Linked DNA regions of Homo sapiens: all the other regions are linked to region 4. The links are contacts of gene promoters, found by promoter capture Hi-C in blood cells and fetal thymus (Javierre and others, 2016). All regions are on one chromosome and are shown on one strand. The core of a region is centred on a gene start or on the middle of the fragment in contact, and the rest is flanking DNA. Distances in the headings are between cores, read along the strand shown.

Region 1 (4,619 bases), core at 1,737-4,236, 530 kb after region 4:
AACAAGGCAACATCATCTCTCAGTTTTCTAGGCCATTAGAGTCATGTTGGGGCCCCTTCTTAAAGCTTCACATTTGCAGATTTACACACTAACCTCATCTCTGTGGCCCTTGTAACTATGAGTGACTTGTGGTCTACTAGAAATCCAAACTCATCTTCTCCCATTTTCTTCCAAACTGCCTTAATGTATGTGCTGCATCCATTTTGAAGCTTTTCTCCTACATGCTAATTCAATTTACTCCTTCACAATTTCTCTCTTTTGAAATGACATTTAGTAGGATTTCAGGCTTTCTTTGCACATTCGAGGAGTGAAGTTCTGTAAAGCTATTTATCCTGCTGTTTACTTCATGGATGTTTTTACCTAAATAAGTAAAGTATAGCTGGCACAGATCCCACGGATAATTTCTTAGTATAGCTTATTTAACCATATTAACACTTCAGCTAGTATTACTCACTGTCCCAACTTGGAAAAAACTTGAGTACCTTGGTTATGCATACATCTACAGCCACCACTACTGTGTGGAACTAAATATTTCCTAACCTCCTTGAAACACAGTTTACACAGCTGTAAAACAGAAATAAAAAATACACCTACCACAAAAGTCTCCTACAAAAACTCAAAGAGTGGCCTAAAATTATGCACATTACATAGTGGGTCTTCTAAGAAATATAAACTCTAAAATGTAGAAGAAATAAGAATAATAACTAATCATAACTAACCAATAATTTCAAACATGTCAAAAACAGATAATAAAGAATGGCATTGTTTAGAGTGAGGCCTATCTAGTGAAGATCCTTTCCCTGCATCCCCCATTCTTCTAGCTGTAGTCACTACTAATTAGACGGCATGGGTACCATAGCACCTACAGGGTCGGCACCTTGTTTTCCTGAGAAAGCCCCTCTCAGGGAAGATTTTTGCCTTGTGCTCTTTACCCAGAAGAATGCTGTGTTGTATCTGCAATGTTTCAAACTTGATTGGGTTGGTACAGTAGAGAAACAAAAAAAACTGAGGACCTAACATGGGAATTTGAAGAGGTAGGAACGTCTTTGAGTTGAGCCCTACTATTAAATTCTTTCTCAGCATCTCAGAGGAACAACATGAGGCTAGTTATCCCTCCCTAGTACTCTGAAACTAAACAATTTAGTCATCTAAGTTACTATCAGGAAACTGACACACTTCAGGGATGCCAGAAGGAACAGGGATGCTCCTGGGATGGGTGAGGCACTTTCACAGCGTTCTTTCTCATGTTGAAATCCTAGGAACCATAGCTGATGCATGCTGAAGAATTAGCTAAGGATTACGTGACTTAAAACAGTTCTATCAACACAATTTTAGACCTACTTTTCTTTGCCTCATGAATTACTAATAGATTCCAAAGTTATTTTTACCAATAAATTATTTGGTTTATCATTTATGCTTGATAAACTGAAGGAGGATTGGGCTTTTCAGAAAAGAATGCTTAATGAGGTTTGCCAGCTTCACAAAGGACAGTTTTTTTATAGAGAGAGAAAATAGCTAAAGGACAGATGATCCTCATTTTTCACAAATAATGGGCACTTGAAGCACTCTGTGCAAATTAAACCTCTGAAACTCACATAGTATCTACATGAGGGTTTGCTGGAGTTTACTTATAAACTAGTAACCGTGGTTATCTCAGGAGAATAGTTAAGTATCTAGGGAATAGGAGTGGGGGAGAGACTAACTTTTCACTGCATGACCATTTTCTTCTCTTTTGAATTTTGGTATCATGTATATTTTTTGCTTATTCAAAGTGTTTAAATATTTAAATGTTCAAAGATATTTTAAAATTGAAATAAATAAATCTGTGAGTAAATACTATGTTAGCAAACTGGCACTGTATAAACACAATGATTGAGTTAAGTCCTAATTAGGTGTGTAAATTTGAGCAATTTTCTTAACATTTCTGCAATTTTCAGTTTCTTCATTGAGAAATGGTAATAATAATACTTCTCTGACGGACATTTTTGTAAGGTGCAAATAAAATAAATAGTAAGCCTAGTAAAACAACCGTGTAAAGCTGGGAATTATGAGGCTGAATTACCTGGTCCCAAAGTTCCTGATTTGCCTAAAGATTTTGAAAAGAAGGACAAAGCTATTTTATGGGAGTCCCAGAAATGAAGAAACGAAGGAAGGTAGAGAGGGTAGAAGACAGGCGAGTGGAAAGAAGAGGAAAGGGGAAAGAGAGAGAGGATGACATTTCCCAAGGGCCATTTGATTTTACTTGATTTAACATTTATAGCCTAGTTCTTTAAGCTCCCAATAAAATTATTTCTATTTTAATAAATAAAGATATGCTGCTACTACATAATATGCCTTTAAGTTTTTGAGAATATAGAATTTAAAAATAATAGAATTAGAAATGAACAGAGATGGCAAGAGTGAGTGTCCTTGCTTTGCTCCTGATCTTAGAGGAAAAGCTTTTAATTTTTCACCCTCGAATATATTAGCTGTGGGTTACTCACATATGGCCTTTATTATGTTGAGATACATTTCTTCTATACCTAATTCGTTGAGTGTTTTAATCATGAAAAGATGTTGTATTTTGTGGAAAGCTTTATCTGCCTCTATTTAGATTATCATACAATTTGTATCCTTTATTCTGTTTATGTAGTGTATCACATTTATTGATTTGCCTACACTGAACCATCTTTTTTTTTTTTTAGAAAAGAAAGAAATTTATTGAACCATCCATCCTTGCATCTCAGGGATAAATCCCACTTGATCATGTTGCATTATTCTTTTAATGGACTACTAGGTATGCTAGTATTTTGTTGAATCTTTTTGCTTCTATATTCATCAGGGATGTTGGCCTGTAATTTTTTTATAATGTTCTTATCTGGCTTTGGTATCAGGGTAATGCCATCCTCATACAATGAATTTGGAAGTGGTCTCTCCTCAATTTTTGGAAAAGTTTAATAATAATTTATTAATACATTAGTTATTTAAATGTTTGGTAGAGTTTACTACTGTAGCCATGTGGTCCTGGATTTTTCTTTGATCACAGTATTTATATTGCTGATTTAATCTCCTTACTCGTTATTGGTCTGTCCAGATTTTCTATTTCTTCATGATTCAGTCTCAGTAGGTTGCATGTTTCTAGTAATTTATCAATTTCTTCTAGGTTATCCAATTTATTGCTATATAGTTGTTCATAAGCAGTCTCTTAGGATCTTTTTTATATCCATGGCATCAGTTTTCATATCTCCTCTTTCATATTTGATTTTATTAATTTGAATCTTCTCTCCTTTTTTCTTTATTAGTCTAGCTAGAGGTTTGTCAAATGAGTCATCTACAACTGCTGTCTCTTCTGTCCCACATCTCACTAACCCCTCAACCCATGGCAGTCTGGATTTAGCCCACCATCTACTGAAATTATTCCAAGCTTTCTGTCAGATAAACTGAGTCATTCTCCGTTTTTATCTTCCTAGACTTCTCTGCTACATGTCACAGTGCCAATCATTCCATCTTTCTCTAGAGTCTCTACTTACTGGTTTTCATAATATCCACTTAATATTCTCCTACTCCTGTGCTTAATCTTTCTCCTCCTTGATCTGAACCTCTTCTTCTAAATGCCAAATGGAGTCCTCTGGTGCTCATTCCATGGATCTTACCATCCTATGCATTCTCTAGTTACAATATCAATGATTCCTATGGTTTCAGTCATCACAAATCTACTAACTCACTCATCTACATTTGCACTCCAGAACTCACTTCAAACTTAAATATCCCCTTGCCCTCTAGATATCTCTGTCCAAATATCCTCAAGTACCAACAAGCTGATCATCTTTCCCACAAACCACTTGAACCTCCAGTATTCTCTATCCTGTACACCAATAATCACCCAGCTACTTGAGTTACCTTGACATTTTCGCCTCTACTACATGCTACTTATCTAAACTCCTCATTCTGACAGTTCAACAGCATAAGTATCTCTGGAATCCATCTCTCTCCTTCTATGCTGACTGCCATGCCCTAGTTCAGAGCCTCCTCATCTCTTGCTCGATTATTACCATAGCTTCCTAATATAGCTGTCTTCCTCTATCTTGTTTGATTTAAATCCATCTTTCCATTGCCATAAGAGTGATACATTAAAAAGTAAAATCTGACTACATCACTTGCATGCTTAAAATACTTTAAGTTCTAGGTCCATTACATAGCCCTTCCTTCGCCTCTAGCCTCATTCCTTATTACTCCACTTTTTGAACTGTGTGCTGTCATGTATCAAACTCTGTAATTTTGCTGACATACCAGTTTTTTCTATCCTCAGTGAATTTATTTACTAACCTGTAATATGCCATATTATTATTGTTTTACCGGGTTAATGTCTACACAATTCTCTAAAAGCCATCACTTCAATGAAAAGCCTTCCTGGATCCCTCCTATTAGGGCAGGTGACCCTACCTAAGAGTCCCATAAAACACTCTGAGCTTTGCATTAAGTGTTAAGTGCAACCCATCTGCATTAAGTGGATTCCCCACCCATATCCTTTTCCCTTGAGCTTGCGAGCACTTTGAGTAGTCAGACTGCAACTTCACCTACACTCAGGACATGATCCAATACCTGAAACAGAGTACGTGCTAGATAAATAGTTGTTAAAA
Region 2 (4,506 bases), core at 1,646-4,145, 610 kb after region 4:
TGGGGGCCACCACCGCCATTCATGGTTGAAAGAAAAGAGGTGGTCAGCTGGCAGGGCCTTCTCAACTCAACCTCCCTCATCACCCGGTTCCCAAGCCAGCCTCATAACCAGTCCTCCCTCCTTTAGAAGCCGCTGGGGACCCCTTTTCTCTTCTCTTCCCAACAGCACCACCTGCTGGCCATAGAGGCACTTGGCCTTCTACTAATCACACCCAGTCTGGCCTGAGTTGGAGATGGCCGCACACACTCGGGTCCAGTCAATGCTCCATGTGGAGAAGACAAGAGTACAGAGATGCAGCATCTAACAGAGTCAGAGGAAGGCTATATGTGCAAGACAGAGTTACATTACTTATAGGGTGGGAGCAACACGAATAATGGTTCAGGACATAGGCTCAGGAATCAGACTTCTGGAATTCAAATCTAGACTCCACCACTTCTATTGTTCCCTTAAAACAAATTTCTCCTATGTGAGAGTAAGTGACACAGAATCTCCTATGAGCCAAGCACTGGAGTTACAGCAGCGAACCAGATACACAGAATCCCTGCCTCCCAGAGCTCACATGAGGAGGAAGACAGACAAAAAGCAACTCAGCAAATGCATAAATAAGAAATTGAAGAAAATGAAACAAAATGACCAGGGAAGAGGGGTGCTCTTTAGCTCGGGTAATGTGGAAAGGCCGATCTGAGGTGAGAGCAACAGAAATGATGGGTTACATGATGGTGGCAATGGCAGCGTGCTGGAGGTGAGAGGAAATCTGAGGGAACATTTTCTTGAATGTGAATTGACTGACAAAAGTGTCACTGAACACATTACCTTTGATTCCTAAATAGCCAGAATGACAAAGCCTATCTGTAGATTACTCATTGTGTTCTCATTCATTTATTTTTTCATTCAACAAATCTTTGTTGAGTAGCTACTGTATGCCAAGCTTTCCTTTAGGTGCTGGAGATGTAGCAGTAAACAGACCAAAAGTGCTGTTTTTGTGGAGTTTACACTTAGAGGACACCAAAAGCTCATTTATCCATTCACTGAGCTCCTGCTGAGCACCTAATGCCAAGCATGATGCCAGACACTGATGGGTCCCAGACCCTAAACAATAGGGCTATCTTGGGGTGGGCACATTGTGGCCAGGGTGAATATGCACCTGCATCTGTTTAGGTTTGTTCACAGGCATAAACACACACCTGCCTGAGCATGTATCCCATCAAACCTCAGACAACATGTATATACTGTTCAGATGTTTTTCAAAATGCATCGGGAAGACCCCGAAGGGGTCTCAGTAGAGGCTTTTTATTTGATTCAAAGCTTCAAAAGATTATTCCATCTGCAAAATGTATAAAGGCTGGATGTTGGAGGAAGCATGAAATAGGGAGAGGAAGGACCTGCTACTAGAGTTATGGCTAAAGGTGGTAGATGGCAGCAGTGGAGACAAAGACAAGAGGGTGACGCTAAGTGTTTTGGAGGAATAACTAACAGGAGTAGCAGGGGGACTCAATGTGTGGGGTAAAGGAGGAGAAAGAAGGCAGAAATACTCCCAAGTTTATGGCTTAGGCCACTAGGTGGATGCAGAGAGGTGAGGACTAGGAGATATGTGGGTACATGTCTGAAGCTCAGAGATATCTGGGCCAAAAATGTACATATTTGAGAGCTGTCATCACATAGAAGGTATTTAAAGATATGTGAGTGGCTGAGATCACCCAAGGAGAAGAAGAGAGGGCCCTACCGAGCTGAGGACTCCACAAGATCTCAAGGTTGGACAGCGCAGAAGGAGCCTGTACAGCCAGCTGACAAAGAGCGGTCAGTGAAGGAAGAGAAACTAGGAGGGTGGAGACTGGAAAGACAAGAGAAGACAGGTGTCCAAGAAAGGAAGGAAAATCAATGGAGTCAACCAATACTAACTGGTCAAGAAATGCAGAGTGGCTGGTGACCTTGATGAGGACAGCCTGAGTGGGGACACAGAGGCCAGAACAGAACAGAGTGGACTGAGGAGCAAAGGGAGGTACCAAGCAGGGCAGTCTGTGGGGTTCCTGGATGCAGCTGGATTGGTTTGCTGCTCAAAGAAAATCCCAGCTCAGACCTACTCTAGGACAGAAGAGGCCTTCATGAAAGATGCCTGGCTGCAGGTGTCCAGGTGTGGGAAGGTGAGTGGGAGGAGGCAGGACTGAGCAGCACTTCCCCAAACCAGGAGGGAAGCCAACACCGAAGCCCAGGCTTCCATTTATAGAGTTTCCACAAGTGGACCCGGACTACTCCACCCTGTTCACAAAGCAACCTCGCCTGAACCTTTGACACCAGAGGCTGAGTCAGGCCCAGATGGCAAACACACTTTAAGCCCTAATCAGACTTTGCATGGGTTTACTCAGCCCATGCCTGCTTCTCTGCCCCTACCATGTCCTCCTAGAAGAGGGAGCACCTCTTCCCCGTCACCCCCCAGAGACTCACCTGCATGAGGTTCACACACTGCACTCTCTCACACCATATACCACACACACACACGCACACACATACATACACAAAGTCAGTGTGATGATTCCAGATGCTGGAACCATGCCTCCCCTTGCCCTTTGCCAAATGCCTGCCATGCTGGCCACAGAGGCAGAAGGAAAATGACAATTCTGCCCTTTTGTAATGCATGCTACTATTTTTGTCCATCACAGGTTCCTCAATTTGAGGCCTAAGTGTTCCTAGACTTCATCCGGTGTTGGAGGAAGCCCTTGCTGCCAGGGAAGCCCCAGTGTGAAGACAGGACATAGCAAACCTCAGGGAGACCCCGGGATGAGGAAGAAGACAGCCCCACCCTCTGGAGCCTGCAGAGGGAATGCAGTGGAGAGACACAGTCCTGGCCTTAAGGTTATCCCCAGTTTGAGGAGAAAGAAAAGGTCCCTGGCCTCAGAAGATCCCCAGTGCTAATGTCCCCACAAAGTGTGAGGGTCTCCATCGTACGCATCTCTGTCCTCACCCTCTCCGGACTTGGATTTTTTAAAGATATAGTACAAAATACAAAATGAAAATCACATCCAACTTACTCACCTTTAAAGAGCCCTGATCAAAATATGACAAGTGTGTTTCTCCAGTCATATGTTGAGTACTCACCTGAAGTCTAACCCAGGCTGGAGTTAAAACATCGACTCTGACACTCCAGTCTTTATATCATCATATCTACCACCAACACATCACCCACGTTTACCTTGACCCAGTTTCAAATATGAGAATTTTAGATTCAGAGGCAGAGCAGGGGTCAAGAACTGGCGTAGAGCCAGGCTCCTCAGAATGTGGCCTGTCCCTGTTCACACGGCCCAGGCAAAGCCTCACCAGGGAACCATGCTCCAGCTCCCTGCCCCACTCCAATCCTGCAGACCCCAGGTGACATTCCTGAGGCCACACAGCCTGAGTAATGACACAGCTTAGTGGAGCTGACTCATGGAAAGAGTTGCCCCATGTGCATTTGGAGGACAAGGACAGTTGTGCAAGGTGTTTGTGACAGGCCATGAGGAGGGGCAGGACGTGAGGCAGCAAGAAGTACCAGTTGGTAATTGTCATTACTTCTACTAGAATCTCCAGGTGACAAATCTACCTCAGTGCCCATAGCCCTAGATGTTGCAAAGCAAAGCAGCACTTCCACCCACGGCCTCAAAGAGCATTAAAGAGTCACTCTGTTTCAGCTCACATGAAATCAAACCATCAGTCCATCTGACTGCCCTCTGGATCGCAGCTCTTGGCTAGGTACAAGAGCTGGGGATATGAGGTCTTTTCAGCCCCCTTATCTGTGAAAGAATGGGATTGCACTAGATGCTCTTTATGGCTTCTTCCACCTATGACATCCAGTGGTTCTAAGCAGGTCTCAACAGGGACCCTGAAGTATGTCATACATATGTGACACAAGAGGGGAACCCACTCAGAGCACCCAAGTTCAAGGTCCCAAGAAAGGAAAGCCCAGTCTCCAGCTCCATACTACAGGCTAGTGGCAAATCCCTGGCACAAAGAATGTTGGCAGTCAAATACAAATGTGAGGATCGTTCATCAAACTGGCATGCTGTGTCCATTCATCTATTCATTCATTTGATAAGCATTTAATGGGAGCCTTCTATGCCTGCTATGGAGCCAGCTACTAGATATGCAGAAAATAATAGACAAAGCCACTCCCCTCAAGGGCCTCAAAGTCAACTGGCAGAGGCAGAGGCAGAAAGAGGAAGAAAAAAAAAGCAACATGCTGAAAGAAATACAATGTTGGAGAAATGTCCAGCTTAAAAGGGGCCAGGAGAGGGATTGCCAAGGTGAGCGAGGAATCAAATTCACTGAAGACATAGTTGAGCTGTTAACACTTAAAAGAAACTGGACTTGGAACCCCCACCATCAACTTGGACTCTAATTCATGACATATATGACCTTTGTACTCTCTGTTTCCTGACTTATAAAATGAAAGTACTGAAGTATGTGCCCACAAAGCACAGAGTTCTGAATACTAAAAAAATTAATATAGTAGCTCCAAGCTTAAGCATGGACTCA
Region 3 (4,745 bases), core at 161-2,660, 660 kb after region 4:
GCTCTAGGTTATAATCCAATACTAATTCATTTATGTTCTTGTTCAAATTGTTTGATTTTAGCTGTTAAGAACTCTTTCAGTTGGCTCTCATATTTTTTTATTTACCCCACCATTTTACTATTACTATTTTTGAGTAGTGCCTTACTTACTGGTACTATAAGAGGTTCCAAGCTTATATTGTATATTTCTTCCCAATCCTAGAGTCAGCCATTTCTCCAAGAAGCTTTGGTTTATTTCTTAGAGAATGGTACTAGAAACCAAGATCTGGCTACTAGGTGTGCTCATTGCTATCTCTGCACTCTTTCTCCCAAAATCCCATAACCCCATTCTCATCATGAGAAAAATTAGACAAATCCCAATTGAGGGACATTTTACAAAATGCCTGACCAGTAATCCTCAACATTGTCAAAGTCATCAAAAACAAAGGATGTCCCAGAAGCTGTCACAGCCAGGAGGAGCCTAAGAAGACATGATGACAAAATACCTGGTGACATCACTCAGGGAAAGCAAATGGAGAGGATCCTCATGATGGGGGAGGGAAAGGAGCCCTTAAGGAAAACAATGAAAAGACAAGAAGAAAGAAATCTGGAGGGTGTATTGCCACCAGAGCCACAGGAAATGAAAGGTTTCAAAAATATGTAAGAAAATAATCAGGTGTGTCAGATACAGTTAAGACTGTAAGAAGAGGAGTGAGTGACAACTGCCCCCTTGGACTTGGCTTTACGACGTCCTTAGGAAACCAAGTAAGAGCAATTTCAGTGGAGCAGCGCCAAGTGGGGGTAAGGGCATAAGTGTAGTGCAGAGTAAATGAGACGTGAGAAAGAGAATAATCTTTCTAGAGATGTGAGTGAGAAGAATAAAGAAGAGATTAGAAAGTAACTAGAGAGAGCAGTGGAGTTAAAACAGATTTATTTTTGTTGTTGTTTTGTCCAAATTGTTTCAGGATGAAAGAATCTTGAGTATCTTTATAAACTGTGAGCATGAAGAGAGAGAGTATGTGAAGATGCATTCAATATATTCATTCTACAAATATTTTTTTGATTCTTACTATGTACAAGAACTAGAAAACAAAACAGCTGAAAATCCCTACCCTCCACAGAGCTGACATTCTAGTTGGGGGAGATAAACAAGATAAATGGGTAAATACATTGTATGAAAGAGGGTGCAATAAAGCAAAGAAAGGAGACAGTGCTGGCAGGAAGGGGTGTTGCAGTTGTGGGTGGGGTGACCAGGAAAAGCCTCATTGAGAAAGTGGCACTTGAGTAAAAGCCTGAAGGATATGAGAGAGAGGGCTATGTGAGTATCTGAGGGAAAAGCACTGCAGGCAGAGGGAACAGCAAAGCTAAGACCCTGAGGCAGAAGCCTGCCTGGGATGGTCAAGGAACACCAAAGAGGCCAGTGAGGCTAGAGCAGTGAGAGAAAGAAGAGTAGAATGTGTGGTCAGAGACAAAATGAGAAGCTGGATCATGTAGGACCTTTTAGGTCTTGGTAACAACCTTGGCTCTTACTGCGAGTGACATGGGGAGCCATCAGAGGGTCTTGAGCTGAGGAAAGACAGGATCTGACATGGATTTTAACCAGATCTCTCTGTCTTCTGTGTTGAGAATAGACTTAAGGGCTGAAGGACGTCAGAATCAGAGGGACCGATTAAGAGGCTATTGCAGCACTTCAGGTAAAGGTGACTTGAACCAGAGTGGTAGCAAGAGAGGGGCTGAGAAGTGGCTGAAATAATATATTTTTAAGGCAGAGCCAGCCAGATGAGGAGAATGGGAGGAAAGAAGAAGTCAGTGGTGACCCAAGGTTTTTGTCATTTGGCTACAGATCATGAAGCTCCATGCAGGCTCCATAGCATGAATCAAGCATAAGAGTCCTTCCACATCTCACCCTTGGCTTACTATATGAACACCACACTGTTACCAACATGCCTGGTTCAGTATTAGGGTGGTGTGCCCAAAGTTCACTTGGAGAGCTAAGGGCAGGCTCAGGGTCAGTTGGCCACAATACCAGGCCTGAGAGTGGAAGTGCCATTTACTGAGGTGAGGAAGACTGTGGTAGGAGAGCTTTTGAGGCAAGATCAAGAGTTTGGCTTTGGGCATGAATTAGATGTTCTATGACACACACACATTGAGAGATAAATACATGGCAGAATTTGAACCTGTATTAAAGAAAAATGTGGTCGGGTGCAGTGGCTCACGCCTATAATTGCAGCACTTTGGGAGGCCGAGGTGGGCAGATCACCTGAGGTCAGGAGATAAGAGACCAGCCTGATCAACAATGTGAAACCCCATCTGTACTAAAAATACAAAAATTAGCCAGGCGTGGTGGTGGGCACCTGTAATCCCAGCTATTCAGGAGGCTGAGGCAGGAGAATCGCTTGAACCCGGGAGACGGAGGTTGCAGTGAGCTAAGATCGCACCACTGCACTCCAGCCTGGGAGACAGAGAGAGACTCTGTCTCAAAAAAAAAAAAAAAGTTTCCACTGTAAATATAAATTTAGGAGGTAAAAGTGATGAGTTTAAAAAGAGAGCTCAAGGAATGTGAACAGGATGGGATGGAAGGAAGGAGTGAAAAGTTGACCCTCTGAAGCTGATGTCAAGGAAGCTTTGGGAATGTGGTTGCAAGAACATTTGCAAGGTTGCAAGAAGTGGACAGAGATCCTGCCAGATGGCCTCAATTTTCTCTGCTGAGTGGTAGGGGGTTGGGAAGGAAGCTTGGGGAAAGAGGTAAAACGTGGGCATGAATATACATGAGGACAGTGCTAGCAGGAGACTAGACAGGTAGGAGACTAGTCCCAAGGCAGTGCTGGGGCCCCAGCCTGGAGGCAGGGGAGGCTTAGTTCCTCTGACCTCCAACTCTTGGGACAGACAGCCTCACCACTCTGGCCCCTGATGTGCCAAGAGCAGTTTTGTGGCCAGACGTACCAGGATGCCAACCACCCCCACCCCCCACCCGTGTAGCAAGCAACTGTCCCAGCAGGTTTGTATCTCCAGCCATTCTCCCTCCCTTTCTGTGCCTGTACCTGCTGGGTGCCCTGCCTCCTCATTAGGCAGGTCTGGGCAATGGCTCAGCTAAGGGCGCTCCCACTCCACACCCACCAGGGCTGGCCCAGCCCCAGCCCTGACCATGGAGCCAGCTCACCTGCACCACCTACTGGCGAGGCAGGGCAGGACTCCAGCGCCCTTCTGCTGCTATTCCCTAAACCCCGCTTCCACACCAACAGCCGCTGGGACTTAGGGCCCACACTAGGACTCTTAGACTCCAAAGCATTTCAGACCTGGAAAAGGCCCAGGTCACCAGTTGCAACCCCAGTTTTACAAAAGAAGATACTGAAGCTATTCGTTCATTCCACAAATATTTATGGGGCTACCATTACGTGCTGGTGTATCTGGCATCACTCAGGAGCTAGGGACGCACTGGGGAGGTCCTGCCCTCATAAATGGAACAGGCCAGTGAGGAAGACAGATATAAAATAAATAGCCACAGAATTAAAGATAAGCTTTAAATGGCGCAACGTTGGAAAGGGAAAAGTTTATGAATGAATTTATGGCTGGCAGAAGGAGGGCTCCTCTCTGAAGACATGACCTTAAGACTGGAAACTGAAGGTTGAATATAAATTGGCCAGAAAAAGAAATGAAGGTGGGAGAAACATTCTAGACAGAGGAAACAGTATGTGAGAAGGCCCTGATGTCCACAGCCTATGAACAGAAGGCCCTGTCAACAATGGGGCTCCGGAGCTCTGGGGCTCCGACTCACCTCATGAGGAGAAGAGCCCGTGAGGCACATATCTGTTGTCTGGTGGGTCCATCCCTCCCTCATCCCCCTCATCTCTAAATGAAAGCCCTCCTAAGGGAAGGCAATATTGCTTGCTCTTACTTTAGTCGGTTTGAACATATGTATTTTATCCTTCAACTTCATAATATTGTGAGTTCTTCCTCTCTTTCCTTTAGATAGCAACCCAGAGAATTTCACTGTTGCCCAAATTTGACAGAATAGCAAACCAAGAAGGTTGATCAAGTATCCTTGGCTTCATTGAAACTAGCATCTAAACCAAGACTCCCTGTGCTTTTAAACAGCAACACACCTTTAACTTCCTTAAACACCAGAAGGCTATGCATCATGAAGCTCCATGCAGACTCCACAGCACTAATCAAGCATAAGAGTCCTTCCACGTGTCACCCTTGGCTTACTATATGAACACCACACTGTTACCAACATGCCTGGTTCAGTATTAGGGTGGTGTGCCCAAAGTTCACTTGGAGGGCTAAGGGCCAGCTCATGGTCACTTGGCCACAATACCATAAAATGCACCCCTGAAATATGAACCTCATCACATGTGTGTAAAAAGACTAAGAGAAGAAAGGCAAGTAGGAATGAAGTTAAGGGATATTCTTGCCTTTCAGGGAAAGTCAATAATGAAAATTCCAGATTTGGGATCCATAAGAATATTGGTGATAAATGAAATGATTGTGGGCATTCAATAAGGAAAATGGACTAATGAATAATAATGAGCACTGGTGTTGGTACCCCACACACACACAAACACATACTTCAGCAGTCACAGAATTCCTCTTTCCCTCAGCAGTCACAGAATTACCACGATTGGATGATAGATAGTACCTGTCAGTGCTCTTGTGGGTGACAATGAACAGAAGCAGAGACTTGTGGCTAATGGATTACCATCGGCCTGGAGGTAGATCTCTGCAAAACCTACACGAGGCTATGGTGGTGCGGAGAAACAGACACTA
Region 4 (4,731 bases), core at 1,943-4,442:
TTACATGGTAACTGGCTTCCCCAGAGACAGCCTCCTAAGAGGACCAGGTGGAATCTGCATGACCTTTTGTGACCCAGCCTTTGAAGTCACATAGCATATTTCAACCATATTCATTTGGTTAAAGGAGTTACAAGCCCGCTTAGATTCAAGGTAAGTGGACATAGGCCTAACTTCTCAATGAGAGGAATGTCAAAAAAAATTTGAACCATGCTTTAAAATCATCACAAATAGGTATCAGCCAAATCCTCACCCTCTTGTCAGTTCACTCTACATGTTGCTGAAGCCCTAGTATAAATTAATGTTCCCACAGTGTTTTGAAAAGACTCAGATTTTGGTCATGCTTGTAACATATTCAAGCTTTGAAGAGGGTGGCCACTCCTATAACCTTTATGGAACTAGAATGTTCAGAACTATTGCTGCAATAATGATGTCTTACCAAAATATATCAAAGTTATTTACATATGCCAGATAATTATCTAATTCCTGGCCAACATGGTGAAACCCCATCTCTACTAAAAATACAAAAATTAACCAGGCGTGGTGGCTCGTGGTAGTTTCAGCTACTCAGGAGGCTGAGGCAGGAGAATCACTTGAACCTGGGAGGTTGCAGTGAGCAGATATCATGCCACTGCACTCCAGCCCTGGAGACAGAGTGAGACTCCACCTAAAAAAAATTAAATGCAATGGGAAAATAGTATACATCTGTCATTTATATTCAGCAGAAACACTGGTGAAATAAACTTAATTACCACTATTGTCCATCACTTTATTTTTTCTCCCATCAATTATCATTCAATCCCTCCTTTTTCCTAAAGCGTTCTGGCCAATGTGATATGAGCATCCCTGTGTCTGAACCATTCCTATCTCTTGGATCAATAGTGCAGTCAAGTAAATGCTGAAGCAATGTCTGTCATGTCACAGATCTAGACTGCTAGATTTGCAAGTCTGTCATGTCACAGATCTAGACTGCTAATTGGTGGCTCAGCTTTTAATTCCAGCATTTCTGGTTCATTTTGCCTTTATTTTTTAGCTTTGTTTTCCCCTAGACTCTTCAAGGTTTCTCCTGGTATTTAAAAGAGGGGAGGCAATGGGAATGTCCGACTCCAGTGCCCATGTTCTTGGCCTGCACACTATTCTGCCTCCCATTATCTTAGCTTGCTTCCCTTTCAGATCCAACTTCTCTCAAAGGGCAGCTTCATTTCCTCCCTCTGCCAGGAAACCTTCTGCCCAGGGACTCCTGGCTCTTGGGTCCCATTAGTTCCTCTTAGTCACTTTAGCTAGGCCATCACAGGACCATCAAAGGTCATTTTGCAGGCCAGAAACCTCACCCAACACCCACAAATGATACTAGTGACAATGTCTGGACACTTCACTCTTGTCAGGGAAACAGGGGGTTACCATCCAAAGGATAAGTCCCATGGACTTCCCACACACTTATGTAACAGTCCATATCATTCCAGCTCATAAGTGGATTGCTGACTTGTCAGTCGGCATCTCAAGGATGGGAATCATATTTCACACATTTCTGAGTCCTTTGTGTCAACATATATCTGAACTGTGTCCTCAATTCCTGTTGTTTGAATGAATTAATTAATGAATAAAATAGTATAGACAATTAGTTTTCAACAGTCTTGATAATCAAGGCCAGATATTTGGGTGTTACAGGGACTTCCTGGTTCCCTTCTATCAGAAAACATCTGGGCATCTACTGAATAATTATTGAATTTCCTACTGAGGGGCTAGAGTTTGAAGAGCTGTTACTTGGAGTAGAGTCCATCACTATCATCACTCTCCATGTCCCATCTCCTTTTTTTCTGATTCTAAATCAAAGTAGGAGGAGAAAATACCTTGATCAGCAAACATTCTGAGCCAATTCATCCCTGCCCAAGGCCCTGTTTCCCTGCTGCCCTTAGGTTAGCAAAAACGTGAGCTTAGGGTCATAGGGTCAGGGTCTGAGAAAGACGGTGAGGGACAAGGGGAGACAGATAGGTAGATAGAGATAGATAGATAGATAGATAGATAGATAGATAGATAGATAGATAGATAGATAGAAAACAATGATTTACTTTTTCATTTCTTCCAGGGATCACTGAGCTGAGATGTCCTGAAAGGAAAAACTAACAGCACTGTCAGCCCCCTCCCAAGTGCCTAACCCTCAAGTATCCTTTTGGTTGTTTGCTGCCAGTCTATTTCTGTTGTGGTTCCAGCTCTGCAGGAAGCTGCTACCGGAGTCACCATGGGCCCACAGATCCCACTGACATGCCCAACAGAGCATTCTGGAGGCTCCAGTTGCTGCCACAGCTCTGGGGGCTGCTGTGGTCCTGGGTCATGAAGACTACAGAGTATCAGAGTTGGAGGAACCAGAGGACCAAGGACCTGCTCCCATCTGGAGCTTCTCTTCTTCTCTGCCATCTAGGGCTGAGCTACCAAAGTGTTTTCGGAAGGATCTGAACGGGCCCAGTAAGCTCATTCCCTTTGTTTTCCAGAGCTCTGTGTTTATTTCCAACTCATGCTTCTGTCCTTGACCTTGTGAAAGACTGCTCACCTCATTCCCACACTAATATACAACCCCCCTAAAAGGGTTTTGTGAGTTGAGGGGTGTATGACCCACTTGTGTCTGTTCCTAAGATAGGCCTATGTACCCAATGTGGGGCAGCCCCTGTAAGGCAAAGACGGGAACGCACTGGACAGAGCTTGCAACGAGAAAGCACAGCTTTATTCTTCACAGCACAGGGATATTAAAGAAGGAGGGAAAACACTAAGACCAGCAGGATAAATCCCCTGGGGGAGTACTTGAAACTCATCAAGGAACATCTCAGTAGGAAAGAGGAGACAGGAGCAAAGAAGCACCAGGCTAGGGCTGGTTCCAGTCATTTTGGCACTTTCTTTTCTCAAATATTTTTACTTAATCTCGTGGCTCAGGTCAGCAGCAGCCCGCAGAACTGTGGCCACAGCTGGAGCTCCCGCCTTGCTGACCACTTCCCCTGTCACAGGAGTTGGAGCTCTGGCAACGGCAACGGTGAGACCTGCGGCATCTGTGGTGACTCAGGCAGCAGCTGCGCTCGGAGCTGGGCCCACAGCCCCCAGAGCTTGGGGCACAGCTGGAGGAAGCTGGAGGCAGACACTGTGCTGGGCTCTTTGCAGGGCACTTGGGCGGAGGCTGGCACTGCTGCTGGTTCTGCTGGCAGGACATCTAGGCAGGAGGTCAGGGAGCCTGGGCAAAATAAAAGCAAAGCAAAATACGTGTCAATGCAGGTTTCAGGCCAGGGCCTCCTCATGCTTTGGTTTAATTGTGGATCCCTTCCCCTAAACTCAGTCTGCCCTCCAGCTAAGACCTGGGGAAGGGGAATGCAAACGGATCTGAAGTTAAACCGGCCTGATACTGCCCCTTCCTCCGGCCCTCTCCCCTGCCTGGGAGGCAGCTGACACTCCTGGGTGGGCCTCTGGGGCTCCTGCGCACGCCCTGCGGGGCCTGTCACACCTCCGGACCCGATGCGAACAGCTCCCCCTGCAGGCGTCCCGTGAACACAACGCCCATGACCCTCCAGGGTGGCGTCTCTCTGGACGCCTGTGAGCGCAGGGTGTGAGGAGGCAACGCATCTCTGCGCACATGAGGAAAAGGGGGTTCAGAGGTCGCAGCATCGCGGAGCCCCTGAAGTGGCTCGCAGACTTGTCTGTCTTCCTCACTATCCCGCCCATCTCCCATCCCAGTCCCAGCCGGCCACCCACCACAGCCTCTCTGCCGCCTCCACCGTGTCTGCCTCCTCCCCTCTCCTTGTTGAAGCACAGACGTGTTTGCGCAGCCCTTTCAGCCCAGGTCCTCTCGCCAGCTGGACGCTCACCTGGTTTGGTGGAGGCAGGAGAAGGTTCTTCCTGAGGTGATTGTGGACTGAGGAACCCAGGGCCTCAGCCCTTTTATCCTGGGTATTATGATGCACAGCCCAACTATGTGTCCTCCTTTGCTCCCCAAAGGGAGGGGAAGCACCACACACTCCCAAGGACCAGGCTTTCAGCATATTCTTAAGGCGCATATTTTGAGGAATGACAAAAGGGAAGCAGGAAATCTCGATGACGGTCCAATTATCCACCGTTCAGGCCCTCTGGCTGCTGTTCCACTTTTTTTTCTTCATTCAGCTCACATGCTCTGAAGCCAGGGTACGTCCTTTGTGGGGCCTGGTAATATGGGGACAAACAGAACACATTTCTCCCCTTGACTAGCTCACAGCTTTTCAGAAGGCCAGATGGACAACTGAGCAATTAAATCACATCCTATGTGCTAAGCGACGCAGCACAAGTGTGCACAAACATGGCAGGCTGGGGTCACTGCCTTTGGGTGTCAGTCCCCATTGCTTTGTGGATTCCTTTACATAGGTGATGGAATCAGCCCCTGTGTCCTGAGATGTTGGCTGCACTGAGCTCACTGGACCTGGGTTGAGTAAGGGGTGGAAGAATGGAGCTGGGGCCATGGCTTGAGAGGTAGTGTCTTCAGGGAATATCATGGCATCTTAAAGGTGGCATTGGGCACTGTGGGGGCAGAGGGGTAGAGTGGAGGGAGGTGCAGATGGTATAAAAATGTGACCTCCATCTGTGGGATCAACAGAAATCACACTTAATGGGAAAAAAGGGGCATCCGTTTTTGGCTGTCTGTGAAATGTGCAAGGCTGAATTTAATCCTATATATTATGTTAGTAATTCATTAAAATTTCTTTGAATTTGTTGATAATGATGAGG
Region 5 (5,056 bases), core at 1,332-3,831, 590 kb after region 4:
CAGACCAGACATGAGCTGACCACGTAATCTTGAACAAGATCTTTGACACTTTTGTGCCTCAGTTTCCTCATCTAAAAAACGCAGTCAATAAATAGTTCTGTGTCTCCTGTTTAAAGCACGTGCTGGGGCTAAAACAAGGAGATAGAATCAGGTGGCCTCTCAAGTCCCGTCTGGCCCTGAGGGCTTGTGATTTACAGCTCTTTCCTGAATTCACACCTCTGATTCAGACCCCCTGTGTGGGTGACACAGGAGGAAAGGAAGGGAGAGGAGTGGTGGACTTCCTCCCAGGAATTCGCAAGCTGCCCAGGGGCACCCGCTCTGCAGGAAACCAAATTCTGCACCATTCAGCTCTATCAGAGACATTGCCCTGTAATATGCAGATGAATGGGTCAGAGGAGTCTGAGGACTTTTAAGATCTGAACAGAGGAGATAGTTATTTGATGGGAATGGGAGAAAAAAAAACTGTCTTGCACACACCTGAGACTCTTCTGCTGATCCTGTCTAATTATGCCCTGGCTCCCAATAATGACAGCTCCAAAAGTCTAAAATCTTAAATCTCAGATGTCATTAAATCAGATTAACTCCAATCTTGCTGGAGGGCTGGGGATGATCACAGAAACAACTTAGTCACCTTATCTTAAGATTTGGGGTGAGACAATTTTTCCAAAGCTTTCTAATCCACAACCCCAGATACTGGGCCACCAAGATTGATTTTTGAGGACTCAGGCCCCAAATACTCCCACTCCCCACCTAGGAAAAGACAGGTCACCTAAGGTCAATCAGCCACTGGGTGAGCCACTGCCGCATGCAGAAGACAGAAGACTGGGTCTTCCTATGGGTACATTACAACCTGACCAAGGAAAAAGTGCCCACACACGTGTCCACACACTACAAAGTTACACAGTTACCCAGGCTACCCATTCGTGATCACATTTACAGTATCACAGAATGTCAGAGATGTGATGGACCTGACTGAAAGTCTAACTTTCCTATTTTAAAGATGATGAGGCCAGGCCACTTACTGAGCTGAGGAAGACTGTGGTAGGAGGAGTTTTTGAGGCAAGATCAGGAGTTTGGCTTTGGGCATGTATTAGATGTTCTATGACACACACACGTGGAGAGATAAATACATGGCAGAATTTGAACCTGTTTTAAAGAAAAATGTGCAGTGTCTCACGCCTGTAATCCCAGCACTTTGGGAGGCCAAGGGGGTGGATCACAAGATCAAGAGATCGAGACCAGCCTGAACAACATGGTGAAACACCGTCTCTACTAAAAACACAAAAATTACCTGGGTGTGGTGGCATGTGCCTGTAGTCTCAGCTACTTGGGAGGCTAAGGCAGGAGAATCGCTTGAACCTGGGAGGCAGAGGTTGCACTGCCCCGAGATCACGTGCCACTGCACACCAGCCTGGCCGACAGAGCAAGACTCCATCTCAAAAAAAAAAAAAAAAATTCAAGTCAAAGACCAAGTATTGGAGGGACAGAGCAAAGGACATAGAACAAGAAGAACCAGGGAAATCAAGGAAGGCTTCATGGAGGAGGTGAGTCCTGAACTGATTCAGATTGCACTAATATTCATAAGTAGCTTGATGGCCCTAAGTTTTGGAGCATACATTGTCTAATTTATTCCTCACAAGAAATCTGTGAAATAGTATTTTCCTTTCTCAACAAGAGGAAATTGAGATTATGAGAGGTTAAATCACTTATCCAATATTGCATATACTCTATGTGATAGTCAACCCCAGATGAATGGAATCCTGAGTTCTTTCTCCATATATCTCAGTCGCTCTTTTTTGTTGTTGTTTGTTTTGTTTTGCTTTGTTTTTTGAGATGGAGTCTCACTCTTTTTGCCCAGGCTGGAGTGCAATGGCACAACCTCAGCTCCCTGCAACCTCCACCTGCTGGGTTCAAGCGATTCTCCTGCCTCAGCCTCCCCATTAGCTAGGATTACAGGAGCCCGCCACCACGCCCGTCTAATTTTGTATTTTTAGTAGAGACGGGGTTTCACCATGTTGGCCAGGCTGGTCTCAAACTCCTGACCTCAAGTGATCCACCTGCCTCAGCCTCCCAAAGTGCTGGGATTATACGCGTGAGCCACCACGCCCAGCTCAGTGCCTCTTTATCAAAAGCTAGCCTTTGATTGAGGATGCTGACATGACAAGTAGGAATATATTTAAATGAGGGAATGGTAAATGAGATTTTATTCTTCATCTGAGGCTCCCTTCCTCAAGAGCTCCCAAGAGCCTCCAGCACTAGGAAGGTTATTAGGTTTCTACTGCTTCTGTGACAAGTTACCACAAATTTAGTGGCTTAAAACAACAAAAGTGAATCCTATGACAGTTCTGGAGCTCAGAGGCTGACAGAAGTCTCACCAGACTGAAATAGAGTGCCTGCAAAGCTGCACGTCTTTCCGGAGGTCCTACTGGAGAATCTGTTTCCAGACTGTAGAAGCCGCCCTCATTTCCGGCTCGTGGACTCCTTCCATATTCAAAATCAGCAATGGCCAGTTAAGTCTTTCTCAAATCACATCACTCTGACAGACTCTTCTTGCTTTTAAGAGCCGTACACTTATGTTGGCCCCACCTGGATAATCAAGGATAATCTCCCTATTTTAAAGTAGTCTGATTAGCAACTTTGATTTTATTCACTACTTTCAGTCTCTCTTGCCAAGTAACCTAACGTGTTTACAAATTCTAGCGATTAGGTGGCGAACATATCTAGGAGGCCATTATTCTGCCTACCACAGAAGGACTTTGGGGTCAATTTCAAGATTGTTCCACTGTCATGAATCAACTTGATGGCAGGCAGGGCATCCAGTGAGAGGAGTCAAACTCTGGGCTCTACCTAACTGGGCTCACCTCCCCTCCATGAGAACACGATCTAGTCTCTTGTTCTGCACATTTCTATTTAGTCTCCTTGTCCTGGGGCTTAACCAAAGTCACAGGCATACATGACATGAGCAAGGTCATCTCATGCATCCTGTCACAGGAAACTTCCAGAAATCCCAGCTAAGAAGGTCTCTTCCCGGATTCTCTTGCTCATTCCTTTCCTAAGCTGGCCTCCATCTATCCTTTCATTTCACTTGTATCTCTGTACTTCAACAGCCTCCCAACAAGGATTCTTTCCTAGAGGCCACCTGAAATGCCCTTGTCCACCGTCCTTGCCTGGGTAACTCATACTGTCCGGTAAGACAAAGCACAGACATCCCCTCCCCCAGGAGCCTTCCATGACCTTCCACCCAAAACCAAGGAAGAGGCCTTCTTCTGGAGCACAGGGGCTTACCTCTGGCCATATTCTCCATGGAACTGTGAGTCATTTTGGAAGGGAAATGCATCGACATCACATAGGGGCCATGAGTGACTGAAAGAACATATTATTAAAATCTGTGATGAATTCCTTGCTTTCTAGGACACAGGAGAGTTGCTTTGTCTCTTCAACAGCATTCTAAGAAAAGATGAAAAATACAAAGAGGAAGAGAATTGAAAGGAGGAGATGAAAAAGGAGGAGAAAAAGAAGGATGAGTCTCCCCACCCTACACCTACTCTCCCAGATGCCCCAAATGACTTTTTCTCTTCAGATATACACCTGGGTATTCCAAGTCCTTCCACTCTCAGGCCTCTGTCTACTGCCAGGACCTCAATGGGGCTCATGGTGATGTCACATTAACCTCTGAGAACCAGTCTCAAAGGTCAAAAATGCTTCCTGATCTCCCCAGCTTACCTTTTAAAAACTTTTCAGGTATCAAGCATCCAAAACCTATATAAACATTTGAGACATTTTTGATTTTAGCCAAATATTCTTCTTAGGAAATGACTTAAACCTACCCCTTCAAGTTAAGAGATTGAACATAACTTTTTTTTATACTTTAAGTTTTAGGGTACATGTGCACAACGTGCAGGTTAGTTACATATGTATACATGTGCCATGTTGGTGTGCTGCACCCAGTAACTCGTCATTTAACATTAGGTATATCTCCAAATGCTATCCCTCCCCTCTCCTCCCACCCCACAACAGGCCCCTGTGTGTGAGAACATAACTTTAAATTAAGGAGAAAGGAAGGGAACATCATCATATTTAAAGACCCTTGAATTTGGTCAACTTCAGCAAACACAGAACCACCATTTTAAGGAAATGGGGGCTTCTTTCAAAGTAAATCTTTTCCCATTTTCAATTAAATGAGATTTTCCTCTACTCCCAGCTCTCCCACATCCACCTTCTGTATTCCTTCATTAATACATTTACCCCATCAATAATCATTTGTCTTCCATCATCTTCCACTTACTATACCTATGGCATAGTACCTATCCTCTAGGAACTTATAACCCAGGAAAAAATAAGATCTATATATAAATATCTGGAAAGTCCTAATTTCAATAGTAAATGTCATATGAATAATATAAATAATAGATACCATGGGAGTGCATAAAGAGGTGGATTCATTTCTGGTTTAGAGTAATCAGGAAAGGCTCTCAGAGGGTGGTAGACATGAGTAAAGCTTTGCAGAATGCTTAGGATTCCCACAGGCACAGGGAGAACACACCAGGTAAAAACTAACAGCCCAAACTAGAAAGTAGAGGTAGAGAAAACTGGGTGTGTTTGCTTTGAAACTTTTCCTTTCATCCCCTGACTTTTATTGACTTGAGTTCTAAGAAAACGTTTTCCAGAAGGCAAAGAGACAAGTTAACTTTGTTCCAGCCTGTTCTCCTGGTCACTATGAAAACTCTGTGAGTAACTCCACTTTCATAAGGGTGTCATAAATCAAGGTTGAGAAGATGAAGATTGTCTGCCTTCTCCTTCCTCTCTCTTCCCCTTCACCCCACTTCACAACCCAAGAGTAACAAATGAACCGCAATTTCCCTCAAGACCATCACGCAGGAAAATCACTCTCTTCAGCAGGCTGAAAGCCCTTTGTTCGCTTGGAACCACAGGACGAGCCTTCATCCTTGCATCTGAAGGGTGACTTTCTAGGCTTGATGAAGAAGTGTCTGCAACAGGCCATACAAGCCCTTGACCCAGAGAGGCCCCAGGCCTTAGGCATAAAATCTTCCCATTG
Region 6 (4,995 bases), core at 1,449-3,948, 570 kb after region 4:
TGTACCCCACAGCTGGCAGAAGTGGACTTCCTCTCCATGCTAACAGGAATACCACCAAAGCCAAAGAGGCTCTTCTGAAGCCTCCCTTCCCCGCAGCATCTAGGCAGTACGTTGCTCCCTGCACCCTCTCCAATCTCTTTCTTCCAGAATCACAAAGCCCAGAAATTACCTTTCATCTACTGAAAGAGAAAGATACCTTCATAGACCAACAATCTGAGAGCAGTTCATCAAGGGTATCCTCCCGGCTCCTCCTCCAAGCAAGGATTGGACACGTGGGCCATGTTTCGGTCTTCTTTGGTAAACAGCAGACCTGCTCTCCATTCTCTATTTTGACACTGTGTGGTCAGGACCAGTCAGTTCATCTAACTGTTGCCTCCACCACCACTACTGCCACTGCTGGCTCAAGAAGGCATCTCAAGTATGGAGTTTTCCTTCCTTAGCTCTCTGTACCCCTGGGTTCCACCATTTTGGGGGTCTTAAGTAGCAAGGATGATCGAAATTCTAAGAAAGAAAAACTGCTTTAGACAATGGTAAAGTCTTAAGAATTTTCTCTTTCCAATCCTTCAGCTTCAATCAAGACAATTACAACATTTATTTATCACCTCCTCTCCTAAGAGAGCTGACCCCTCAGTCTGCTCCTAAGCCTGTTTTGAACATGCTGAGATGACTCTTCCTTTCCTCTAGAGGCATGGGGACTCTATCTCACTCATCACACACACCTCCTTCCCTCGTGCTCCCACCCTGAGCACCCCACAGCCCACAAGACCCCAACTCTCATGAGCAACAAGGAGAAGACCTTCCCAGGCCACTGGGCCTCCATAGGTGGTGAGTGACTCCTCCCAGGTCCTTCCCAGAAAACAGCAGGAATTAGACAAAAGTACACTCAGGACCTTCCTGGGGGCCAGGTGTACCATCCTTCCCCTTCCTTATCCTCTTTTTAAATTTATTTATATTTTTGTGGTAAGAATATTTAACATGAGCTCTATCCTCTTAACAAATTGTAAGTGTATTAATACAATGCAATATTGTTGACTATGGGTACAAAGTTCTTCAGCAGATCTCTAGAGCTTATTCATCTTACTTAATTATTTTATGCCTGTTGATTAATAACTCATTTCATCCTCCCCCTGTCCCTGGTAACCACTGTTACAGCCTTTGATTTAATGAATTTGACTATTTTTAGATACTTGATGTAAGTGGAATGATGCAGTATTTGTCTTTCTGTATTTGACTTATTTCACTGCATAATGTCCTCAAGGGCCATTTATGTTGTTGAATAAGGCAGAATTTCTTTCCTTTTTAAGGCTGGATAGTATTCTATCATGTGTATATACCACATTTTCTTCATTCATCTGTTGATGGACATTTAGGTTATTTTCACATCTTAGCTAAAGTTTGATTAGATAAAGCTGCTTATTCCAACTGCTACTGTTCCAGCCCATGCTGCCTCCTGTGGCAAAAGAAGATCATTAGGGAAACACAGTGCTGCCTCCCACTTTATTAAAAAATATGAAGACCTTGTAAAGCTGGTTAAGAAATTGACAAGAACTACTTCAAATCATCTGAAAATGTCCCCCAAATTTCCTGACTTTGTGATCCCACACTCAGTGAAGGAAATGGGTCTCTGCTTTTCACTGCCTTCCTTACCTGTGCAAAGAGATCTCGCTTTGTGCCCTGAGCCTGCAGAAGTCACTCTCAACCTGCTGAGGGATTTTCTCTTCATCTCTGCTCTCTCCATTAAGACATCTGCCCCAGTGGGCCCCCAGTTTATTGCCCTTGCTTGTAGCTGGGAAGGTGATGGTGTCACAGGAGGAAAAAGGAAACAGAAGCCTGGTGGGCACCTTAGGAGGAGCCCTCAGGTAAAATGTGGACTCCACAGAGGAGTCCGGTAGAGCTTCACTCAAGAGAATGACTCCCATTTACCCACAGGATCCTTCCCTACCGTGCCTGGCCCAGCTACCTCCCTGCCAAGTCCACTCCATCCTGTGTCCTCCCCAGTTCTCCTGAAGTGGGTCTCACCAGGCAGAGAATGTGTGTGTGTGTGTGTGTGTGTGTGTGTGTGTGTGTGTGTGTGTGTATGTTGGAGGATGAAGAGGAGGTGCAGGGCAAGATAAACCCTAGCTGCAGGGAAGGGGAGATGGACACTCGCTGAAGCTTGAGTCCATCTCTGCTTGGGAGCCTGGATCAGATGGCGGCTGTATCCTGGACAAATCCAACAAGATCTGGGATTTTCAGCCTACACAGCCCAGCGGTACCTGCCTCCTGGAATCTCTGGGCCTCATACAGATATATTCATGTTGGAAGCTGACCCTGAGAAACAGATCTCCATCTCCATAAAGTTGGATCTCCCTCCTCTGACAGACAGTTTATTTGATTCTTATCTCCCCTGCTGAACTTTGTCTTGTATATCCATTCATTTATTTCCCAAATATTCACTGAGCATCTATTATATGTCAGGCCCTGGCCCAGCACTAAAGATGCAAAGAATAATAAGAAAGCCCTTTCCTGGATTAGGGCACTGTATGAGACAGAAGACAGCATTGCCCCCCGGCAGAACAGGTGGGGAGTCAATCCATGGGGAGCACATCAGGCATGTTCAGAGATGGTATCTCTTAACTGCAGCAGGGTGGGGGTCCAGAGCAGTCCACATGGAAGGTGGAATTTTCAAATTGTATATAGAAGATAAAAAATAAATATCAATAAGGCAAAAAGGAGGGGGATACTCCAGTTAGAGAGAAAAGCAATTGCGAAACCATTGAAATATTATTCCATCTCCTTATTGACAAGAAGCATTAACTATTGCCTGGCCAACATGTGCCAAGACACACACTGGACACTGCAGAAACAGAGATTTTAAAAAGTAATTGGTTCCTGATCTCTACACTACATCATGTGAGAGAGTAGATCAGGAAGTAAATAACTACAAAATATGGGGATAAAAATTTCAGAATGAGCTTGGCTAAGGCAACTAACTGCCTGGGAAGGTGAGAGAAATCATGCCCAAGGAGAATTTCCTATGAGTTCAAGGTTGAGGAGGAGAGAGGGAGGACTCGGCTGGCAGAGCAAAAACTCGGAGTTTAAAAAAATAAAAAAAGTCTAGCATATTTTGGAAACTGCAAGTAGCTTTACCCCAGAATCTACGGTAAAAGTAGAAGACCGAGCTGAAAGTAGACACCAGATTAGTAAGAGTTTTGTTGACCCAACCAAGAGCCTTGGGCCTCATCTTAAATTCAATAGTAAAATTAAGCTTTTGTTTTATAAAATTCACTTCGGCAATGCTGTGGGGGTTGAATTAGTGGTGAGACTCTTTGGAGACAGGGAGACCTGTGATGATGATGCCACAATAAAGGCAGCAACCATGGCTGTGAGAGAATGGGGGACCAACTTGAGAGAAATGTGCCTGCAGCTCCCAAACACACCCTGGCTTAGAAGCCTGTGGCTCAGGAGGTAGAATCTGCAGATCCTGATAGCACATTTGGTGTGAGGTTGAGTAGGAAGCAAGAGTCTGGGATGATCCCAGGTTTCTTGTTAAGTCTTGGTGGACAGGATGCTATTCACAGAGTCGGAGCGCATAAGAGGAGCAAGAGGGGCATGTTAGGAAAAATGTGGAAGGTGTTGAACTCTGATTTTGTAAAATCAGCTTGAGGTACCAAAGTACATCCAATGGATGTTAGTATTGGGACCTAAAGCTCAGGGAAGAGGGTGGGCTTTGGGATTCTCTATGCAGAGCTGGTACTTTCAGCAATGGTGGATAATAATATCAGCAGCAAGGGTGAAAAATGAAGGTGCAGGTGATGTTGAAAGGATTCAACAGAGGAGAAAGGGCTCGGGAAGGAGAGTAGATGAGGCTGTAAGTGGGAGTCTACCCATGTCACAGAGGACCAAAAGGGAAGAGGGTTAAAATATAGGACACAACTGTAACAATTACTGCAGTAAAGTCAAATAGGATAAACCCTGAACCATGTCCATGAGGATTTCGTAGAACATTCTTCCCCCTTTATATAATGAATGAGCAAAAATACACAAATATCAAGAAAAACTTACGCAATGGTGATTGATAAACAGTGAAAGGGGAGGATGTATATCTGGTTCCCATGGGCCAGATATGAGCCATAAGGGAGGGAAAACTGGCTGTCCAGGTGGTCTAAAATCCTGTCCAAGAGGTGAAGATGAGGAATACCAGCCAAGAGAAGCTGTAGGAGAGCTTGCCAATGCCTAGGCGCTACAGGAGCCATGCACAGCTAGACAAAGCAGACATGCCTGTTATACTAAAGAACTGTGGCCAACACCCAGCCAGCAGGGAGAGGAGAGTCTGTGAAGGACACATTCAAGTTCTCCACGGGAGAAAGGTCAGCCATAAGCACCTGCCAAGCCCAGAAAGCTCCTATGCCAGTTCACAAAGTTTTCAGGTCTTTCTTTCTCATTCCTTTGCAGCCCCTACCCAAATGGACAAGAGGCAGCTGGGTGAGCAAGGGAAGAAAATTAAAAACTTCTAGTAGCTAATAGAGAAGATACTCTTCTTTCCTGTGCAGCCTTCCTTCCTGCAGTAGTACCAAGTAGGAAAGAGAAGGAAATCCAACATTCAAGGAAAGACCTTCTGATTACTGAAATAAGATTTTTTTTATGTAAATAGAAGTTATTTTTATATAAATAGAAGTAAGAAATCATGCGATTTCTTAGCATGATTCTAAAAGTCAAGGGCATCTGCTAGAGATTTCATTCCAAGAGAAAGGGAAGAGCCAGCCCCACAGAGAGGGTTTTAAGAGGCATCAAGAGAAGAAATAGAGTTGCTTTCTGACCATCATGCAGGTTCTGCTTGTTCAACAAGAATTACACAGAGAGATAGAAAAAGGCATGGAAAAAAATAGAAATACTTTGCCAAAAAAGCAGCGAGGGAGATTCTAATGGAGTTAAAATTGCTGATACATAGCATGTCCCTGGGCTGATACAATATGCAGACATACAGGGCCTTCAGACACACACAGAGAGGAACCA

Evidence for each region. Contacts are between HindIII fragments. The CHiCAGO score rates a contact against its expected background, and 5 or more counts as called.
Region 1: a fragment that was not itself captured here is called in contact with the fragment with the promoter of LCE3A in region 4 in 2 of 17 cell types (M2 macrophages and M1 macrophages); the score reaches 8.1 in M2 macrophages.
Region 2: a fragment that was not itself captured here is called in contact with the fragment with the promoter of LCE3A in region 4 in 4 of 17 cell types (M2 macrophages, M0 macrophages, erythroblasts and 1 more); the score reaches 6.3 in M2 macrophages.
Region 3: a fragment that was not itself captured here is called in contact with the fragment with the promoter of LCE3A in region 4 in 1 of 17 cell types (M2 macrophages); the score reaches 5.1 in M2 macrophages.
Region 5: a contact is called between a fragment that was not itself captured here and the fragment with the promoter of LCE3A in region 4, in 4 of 17 cell types (M2 macrophages, M0 macrophages, megakaryocytes and 1 more). The highest score is 9.7, in M2 macrophages.
Region 6: a fragment that was not itself captured here is called in contact with the fragment with the promoter of LCE3A in region 4 in 4 of 17 cell types (M0 macrophages, M1 macrophages, M2 macrophages and 1 more); the score reaches 10.2 in M0 macrophages.

Annotation. Positions count from the first base shown.
Region 1 is chr1:153,151,478-153,156,096 of GRCh38, forward strand. It overlaps a transcript of SPRR2G not described here. Among named protein-coding and RNA genes, the nearest start is that of SPRR2G, 2.9 kb to the left of the region's middle. The HindIII fragment of the contact is 830 bases long and covers 2,572-3,401 here.
Region 2 is chr1:153,229,289-153,233,794 of GRCh38, forward strand. No RefSeq gene overlaps it. Among named protein-coding and RNA genes, the nearest start is that of PRR9, 14 kb to the left of the region's middle. The HindIII fragment of the contact is 3,185 bases long and covers 1,304-4,488 here.
Region 3 is chr1:153,285,702-153,290,446 of GRCh38, forward strand. No RefSeq gene overlaps it. Among named protein-coding and RNA genes, the nearest start is that of PGLYRP3, 25 kb to the right of the region's middle. The HindIII fragment of the contact is 2,378 bases long and covers 222-2,599 here.
Region 4 is chr1:152,619,911-152,624,641 of GRCh38, forward strand. LCE3A (late cornified envelope 3A) reads right to left here and starts at 3,193. Exons shown (of 1, transcript NM_178431.1): 1 at 2,924-3,193. The coding sequence starts at 3,193. The coding sequence ends at 2,924. The HindIII fragment of the contact is 6,916 bases long and covers 356-4,731 here.
Region 5 is chr1:153,212,172-153,217,227 of GRCh38, forward strand. No RefSeq gene overlaps it. Among named protein-coding and RNA genes, the nearest start is that of PRR9, 2.9 kb to the right of the region's middle. The HindIII fragment of the contact is 3,829 bases long and covers 668-4,496 here.
Region 6 is chr1:153,195,103-153,200,097 of GRCh38, forward strand. It overlaps a transcript of SPRR2G not described here. Among named protein-coding and RNA genes, the nearest start is that of LELP1, 5.8 kb to the right of the region's middle. The HindIII fragment of the contact is 1,093 bases long and covers 2,153-3,245 here.